2 separate regions of the Homo sapiens genome follow, and region 1 is linked to region 2. Evidence: promoter capture Hi-C in human tissues and cell types (Jung and others, 2019). All regions are on one chromosome and are shown on one strand. Each heading gives the region's core, a stretch centred on a gene start or on the middle of the fragment in contact. The rest is flanking DNA. Distances are from core to core; before and after follow the strand shown.

Region 1 (3,740 bases), core at 612-3,111, 170 kb before region 2:
AATCAACAACGAAAATGGGAAAGCCAAGGAAATCTTGACCTTCTCAATTGTTCTTGACAGGTCAATTTTATGATTTATATTAGTGTAAAACAAAGTCTAGTCCAAAGTCCTTCCTTACCATTCATGAGCTTATGTTTTTGATGAGAAACCTTTGTAACATATTTTCCAATCAGTCATCTGTTTACTTCATGTCTGGTTACAGGTCAACTTTGCAACCTGTCTCTGTGTGGTACGTGTACAAACTGATTTCTACATCTTTAATTAGGGAAAAGTAGAACCTGGAGAATGTATGATGTATATAAGATAGTGTTTAAAAATACTCAAGAGATTGGGCTGTCTGAAAAAATATGGAAAAAATGGAAGAGATTGCTACTTGGCAATAGGGTAGTTGTCATGAAATTAAGCTATAAGGCAGTGATTCTCAACTGGCAGGGATTTTGCCCTCAGGAAACGTTTGGCAGTGTCTGGAGGTATTTTTGGTTGTCATATTTTCAGGGTGTGGGGGAAGGAGAAGGGAAAGGGTGCTACTGGCATCTGGTAGGCAGAGGCTAACTACCTTTACAATGCATTGGAAAGGCTCACCACACACCCCCGCCAACAGAAATAGTAACTCCGAAATGTCAGTAGTGTTGTTTGTAAAACCCTGACGTAAGGGATCATAAAATTTTTGTGGTGTAATCTCCTCATTTCACATTTAAGTCCTGAGCTATTGGATGAGTTATGGAGGTTTGGAAAGAAAACCTAGAATCCAAGTTTTGTGACTTCCAGGTATGTGATCATTCAACTCTATTGTTTCCTCCAAAGTCTCATGTCCTTCTTTGAAACCTCTTTCCGAAAGCATCTGGAAAAGTGTGTCAGAGATTTTTCTCTGCACAGATTGAGATCTGGAATATAGCATATTCATATTTCTCTATGGGAATTCACTTTGTTGAAAAACTCAACCTAAAAGCTTACCGTAGCAATGGCAAGTCAACATTTTGCCTTCATCTCCAAGAGCTTGTTTGACTCTTGGACTGGAATAAAGTCATGTAATAATTTAAAAAAGGAAAAGAGAACAGATTATTGAATGAGAGGAGCTGTAAAACTCAAACTATAGCAAGAGAAAGAAAATAATAGTGGGAATAAAAAAACCAGAGGAACACAGAAATGGGAGGAAGCTAAAAAAATTCGATGAAGCTTTTCTGCAGCTTAAAATTTTCGTTCAAAAATCTCATGAGTAACACAAAACATTCTGTCAAATGTGTTCAGATTTCAAAACGATGCCACCAACCACTAGTCTTTAACATTTGTTCTTTACAGTGTTTTACAATTAGTTCTGAAAGAGTTCATTCACTCTTTTAATTTAATAATCCTGAGTCAATCCCTACTACATTCCATAAACAAGATATTGTAGATGCAAAAGTAACACAGAACTCTGTCTTCTGGGAATTCATAGGCTTCCAGAAAAGATAAATGTGTAAAAATTATGTTCAGTACAAAGTACTAAGTGCAAAAATAGAGGTGTGCCCACAGCACAGAGGTATAATGTGGCACACATTTACCAGTTCCATCTGGGTAGAATGGCTCTGATAAATACAGCCATTCGCATCTGCTACTACTGGAGTTATTTGTGGCCAGAAATATATGTTCACAAGACAGAGTGATAAGACTAAAAACAACAACAACAACAACAAACAACAACAACCACAGTTTGACTCCTTTATGAAAACAAATGGAATTATGGTAAAGAATGCTGACTTTCAATTTAGATAGACTTGGGTTTGAATTTTTACCACTTTCTACTCTGCCACCCCCATATCCACCCATTGCATGTTCTTGGTCAAGTCATTTATTTTTTCTGAATCTTAGTTTTCTCATAAGTAAAATTAGGAAACTAAAACATGTTAGGCATTTAGCACTACAGTAAATTTAGTACCAGTTTAGTACCAATAAGTGTGCAATAAATGGAAGAAACTAATTTTTAATGTTATTACTATTAAGACAATTGTATTCTTCTTAATACAGAAAAAAAATTGAAAATTAATTTGAGATATATGCCTACCTAACCAATCATTCCAGTTAGGAATCTGGTCCTAGTTCCCTTCATCCCGAGGGATTATATTTAACAAATGAGAAAATTATGTCCACCTTTGACATGTATTTATTACATGATGTTAAGGCTATAGCAGGTGGTTCAATGTAGGATTTCTTGCTGCGGCTACCAGACTACAACTAGAGAAACTCTTTCCCTCCCATATGGATGACTCTCCTATGGGTCTAACATGCCAGTGTTTTTATTGATCCAAACAACTATTTTCATGTGATTTCTAAAACTGCTTTCCAGAAGCAATCTGGCCTGTAGACATCTCTAGCTATATTTCATAAATGTCTTTGTACTTGTTAATAAACCTGTAAGGACATTTGGATGTCTAATTTAGATGATAAATGGTGTTCTTTCTATTATTTGTTCAAGTTTAAGAACTAATTCTTCTTAGTAAGTTTCTTTCATCTAAAACAGACTGAATGGATTGGAAGTTGCCCACACATTTTTTCTTGGAAAACTGTATTTTTCTATTTGTCGCTCCACCCACTGCACATTCACATTTGTGAGGTGCTAAATAAGTCAGCATATTTGAAAATGTCATGCCTGTCTAATTTTATGCCTGGCAACATTTTTTTTTTGTATTTTAAGGAAAGTAAACAATATGCCACTTTTCAAAAATTCTGCCAAGTCTTATGTTGTTGTTACATAGCACATACAACCTTCCATTACAGCAATTTACCTATATAATTTTATAATAAAACCCATGCTTTTCATTTCTACGGCATGTAGGAATGCCAATGCAAATGGAGGCACTTGATTTGTTATAAATATAATCAATGCCAGGGGGAAAATTCTGAGTTATATCTTTCCTTTGTCATGGAATCAACAAAACTATGGGAAACAGAGTTGGAATACATGTGTTTCAGAATCACGAAAGTGATAGTACAAGTATCACTGAGAAATGCACGTGAAACACTTACTTTAAATCAAGCTTATTATCAAAATAATTTGAACACTTAGAAAGATGAGCTTATTTTAGATAATCGCTTTGACATGTCCCTAAACATGAACTCTTGACTCCTCTGTGGTAAGTTCCATCAGATAAACTTGGCTTTGTGCTAATCCTATTAGGTAGTACTTCTTTTCTTGTGAATATGAACTTCCCGTCTGTGTGCTGCGGGTTCCTCTGTTACTTTTCAGAATTTGTTTTTATTTATATATTTTTCAGAGGCAGAGAATCTGAAGCCCAGGCTGGAGTAAAGTGGCATGATCATAGCTCACTGTAGCCTCAAACCCCTGGGCTCAAGTGCTCCTCCCCGTCAGTCTCCTCAGTAGCTGGGACTACAGGCATGTGCCATCAGCCTGGATGATTTTTTAAACCCTTTTTTTTTTTTTTGTAAAGACAGGGTCTCACTGTGTTGCTTAGGCTAGTTTTAGACCCCTGGGCTTATGCAATTCCCCTGCCTCTGCCTCCCAAGTGCAGGGATTACAGGCGTGAGCCACTGCACTTGGTCCCCCTGTTACTTTTAAAAGTGACTCCTTCAAATTAAAATTTAAGACAGTGTTTGAAATCCATCTAATTATTTCTTTCATTTCTTTAAGAACCATCTGAACACGCTCATCCTCATTCTGAACGTGTCCCTCTCCCAGGAAATGAGAACATTTCCACACAGTCAGGGAAGCCAAATAACCTAGGAGTCATCCTTAATTTTACCCC
Region 2 (4,031 bases), core at 578-3,077:
CTGTTTGCAAATAATTTAATAATCAAGTCATAGCTATTTTCTACTTCTCAAAATGTGCCAAAGAACTATTGAAAACTCCACAATATAACATCATAATTATAACAATTAACATGTGTATTTAATAATAGCTTTAATAATCCTATGCATTATTTGCTCAAAAGATTCATGATACATTTAAATAATAGCGTTAGCTGGAATAAGAAAGTACCATATTTCACTCCTACTATTGTACACAGAGAATAAAATTCACCCACTCTTTTAAAAAAGATACTGCAAGGATTGTAATTTCAGAACAATTATTTTTACTCATTACCCCTAGAACATAGTATACACTCAGCAAATGTTGCTTGAAGGAATGAATGGATATGTGTGATTGGATGAGAAGCACACTCAGGGAAAATGCCTCGTCTCTGGTTGTTACAGGACTACTGCATGGACAACTGCTGTCACAGTAGGGTTTCTAAAATCTCCCTGCCATATTTTATTTTGGTTCATGTGTGTGTGACAATGATAAGGAATTCAGCCTAGCAAGTCTGTCTGCATTAAATAGAGGTGCTATGTATGCAAAAAGCAGGGACACCACATATAATATCTCTCAGGTACTTCCCAAGGTTTGCTTCCTCACGAGACTTGATATTGATTCTGGTGCCTCAAATCTATTTATATTTGGGAGCAGTCTCACTGTTACTCTTGGTTACACCTTATCAAATCTGTCCGAGGGACAGTGCCTAACCCAGGGTTGTCAGCTTTGGAACTGTAATTGTTTTTTTTTTTTTTTTTTTTTTTTTTTTTTTTAATATGCCAGCGGACGCTAGCCACGGTGCTGAAAGAGACAAGAGGATTCTATTTGAAACCTTTTCTTCCTCTTATTGGCTTAGAAAATTCGAGTGACAAGAGCAGGGGCCAAAGGAGCCTGGTGCAGCATCACTAATGTGAACCATGTATTTCGATCTTTTGGGCGGAGATGTGGTCCATCAGGTTACAGCCAATGCCTTCCTATGAGCGCTCGCTAGACCAAGAGACCTTATGAATGTAGTAGCCGCTGCAGTAGAAAAGGTTACATCTAGCAGGATGTCTTATCCCTCTCCTGAAAAATTGACAGTTAAGTGCATAGCCTAGAAACAAGAGCAGGGAATCTAGACGGAGGGGAGGCGAAGGGGGGAGCAAACCTGTATTCATATTGAAAATGTTCACTATTTTCGTATAAAGTAAAGAAAAATCAAGAGCTAATTTTAGGTTAAGTTTTCGGCCTCAGTTTTCCAACAGGTGCACGACTCCCTCACCCCTTCCCTGTCAGGTACTGTCCTGTTTTACCTTTTTAGAAAGGCTTTCTTCGCAAGGCAAGCTTTTCCTAGAGTCCTTAAGCATGTGCAGTTTCCCATCTCATGCACAGCTCCGGCTCTAAGCCTGGCAACCCCTTACCTGCAGCGTGAAGATTAAGGAGCAGGCACAGCGCAGGGAAGCAGACTGCTCTCCGCATAGTGTTTGCATTGAGAGGTGGAGGAGAAACTCCACCACGACCCCACTTCAGGTAAAGTGCTATTAGAAAGAGCCACCGCCAAGGGTCTTCTAGTCTCCGGGATTCAGGTCCTCGGCTGGGGTTTGCAGAGCAGTCAGTCTGTGGCGCCGACAGAAACCAGCACCAGCTTCAACCTCCCTAAGAGAGGGAGAGAGGAAGAGCAGTAGGAGGTTGCGGGTAAGGGGAACAGAAGCGCTCAGAGGCGGCAAATGCCTGGCCTTCTGGACGCCCAGAAGCCAAGGCGGAGACGGCAGGGTGGACTCCGCGCCAGCCCAGCAGCCCAGCAGCAGCGCCGCGGCTACTGAGCATGCCCAGCGCCGGCCCTCACGAGGCAAGGGAATTTCAAAGTGAAATTCCGCTTCTCCGGGTCTTAGCGGCGGCTTGGAGCAGAGTAGGCTCCATCGCTGGGGTGGTGGTTGGGGGTGGGGGTGGGGGTGGGGAAGGGGGAAGTGCGGGGGAGACACTTGCTGTGGTTACTAGGGACCCAGCGTCCATCACAAATCCGAAGGTGGGGTGTAGCTGAGTGAGAGTAGATGGGGGCACGACCACAGGAGTCAGAGGAGGGAGCTGATGACATTGTCAACCATGCCACCCACCCTACTCTTTCCCCAAATCTTGATTTACACGTGGACCGAGCTCACTGCTGGGAATTGGCATTTGCAGATTGACCAGCTTCCCAGGACTCGCCTACAGGAATAGAGGTGTCTTCCACTGCTGAGCATTCTGGCTGCTCGGGGGAAGCGTTCCCAAGGCAGCTTGCTTGGTGTAAGCAGTAACCATGTATCTTGGGGGTGACTTCGTCCTTCCTACAGCTTCCCCCTCTTTGCTTCTCTTTCCACTCTTTCCAGCTCAATGACTGTATTTAAACTTTCTTCTGACTCAAGTCCTCACAGTGACAGAAAGAAGTGAGAAGATACTTTTAGACTAGTAGAATATATCCATGTAATTGAAGCACAAGAAGGCACCTTTTTGTTTCGTGGAGGTAATTAACTTTAGTTTCCCTTTTACTCTTTAAGGTGAAAGATAATGGATCACGTCAGTGCCTGGACTCATCCGGCCCAGCTCTGTGTCTCTAGGGAGGCTACCACAGTCTGCCATTAGATGGTTTTTTATCCCTCCATCTAAGTCTTTGGAGTGTGGAAAGCCTTATTAGTCATGGCTAATTGCTGCTAGTCAAGTCAAGAAGTCCCTCAGCTAGACTTCTCTTTTAACTATCCCAGGGCCTCTGCCCTTTCTGCCTCTGTGTCTTTATGGACACTGTTGCCTCTTTCCCATTTTCCTCCACTTGCACCACCACCACACTAGTTTTCGAAGGTGTAATGTTGGTCTCACTTTTCCAGAAAGCCCTAACTCTAACTAACTCTAGATTACAGTGATCTTTCTCTTCCACAACACTTGTTTAGCCGTGCCTCATATTATTCTTTCAGACAGTTCATTTATCTGTGGTTTGTTCTACAGCACATTGAAGTCTCCATAAGAACTGCTGAGTTTTGTATTCCATTAACTTGAATAAAGTTGTCCTAGCCAAATAATTGGGGCTAACAAGTGCCCATTGAGTTGAGCTGCACATCTCATTCAGTGCTTTCTTTCTCCATCCTCTGTGAATTGAGACAACTAATGGGAAATAGGCTATCCACCAGAGCTTAAATTAGGTGGGACCTTATAAGATCAGAGAGCCCAGGCGGTACCATTTATTTCTTTTATGATTTATGTCATCTTCAGCTCTGAGAGACAAGGCCAGGAAGCACTCCAACAAGTGGGAGAAGGGGACAATGAGATGTACTTTTAATATCTTGACAGGCCTTCTCTGCTGAAAATAGAGACATATCTCCATGTCTAGCCCCTCTCTAGCAACGTGCTCCACCCCCTACTCCCCCATGCGTGTGGCACACTCCATTTCTGTGGCACTATCATTTCATCCCAAACCACTCTAAGCTGCAACCTCTTCTCCTATTCCTGATTCACTGTCCTCCAGTTTGCTTTTCCCGTATCACTTTCTAACAAACCAAAATAATTACTTATAAAATCTATTGTTTAGTATCTATTTCCCTACTCCCCCCCGCAAAACAGAATTTGAGCTCCAATGTTGAAGAACTTTGATGACTTTATTGATATGTCCCAACTCCCTAGAGCAATGCCTCATGCAAAATAGATACTCAAAAATGAATAAATGAAAATGATAGTTGACAAAGTTCAATACTGACAATTAACTCTTTGAAATTCTTACTGAGTCAACCTTTGAGATAATTTATTTAGCATTCTGTAAAGCTTAGAAGAATAACTCTTCTCATCTAACATCTGTTACTAGAAATGCTGCAGGGCTGGAGGTTAGGGAAAAATAATTGTATCCCACTTACAATAGGTCTATTTTTCTTATTTTCTTGTTTCCTAAAATAACTAATTATCAAACTTACATAGATCTCCAAGAATAAAATATACTTACTTATGGTAATGAAACAATGCTGCAGTAATGTTCTGAACCCCTTCCTTTTCCACAGATAATTCCAACATT

What was found. Contacts are between HindIII fragments. The study calls those that stand out against the background at their distance.
Region 1: a contact is called between a fragment that was not itself captured here and the fragment with the promoter of PTPRR in region 2, in 3 of the 25 tissues and cell types used here (dorsolateral prefrontal cortex, hippocampus and mesenchymal stem cells).

The regions. Positions count from the first base shown.
Region 1 is chr12:70,747,502-70,751,241 of GRCh38, forward strand. The region is part of intron 5 of PTPRR (protein tyrosine phosphatase receptor type R); the gene reads right to left. The region is part of intron 1 of LOC124902960 (a long non-coding RNA gene); the gene reads left to right. Among named protein-coding and RNA genes, the nearest start is that of PTPRB, 110 kb to the left of the region's middle. The HindIII fragment of the contact is 3,321 bases long and covers 202-3,522 here.
Region 2 is chr12:70,918,911-70,922,941 of GRCh38, forward strand. PTPRR (protein tyrosine phosphatase receptor type R) reads right to left here and starts at 1,828. Exons shown (of 14, transcript NM_002849.4): 1 at 1,423-1,828. The coding sequence starts at 1,480. The HindIII fragment of the contact is 3,890 bases long and covers 280-4,031 here.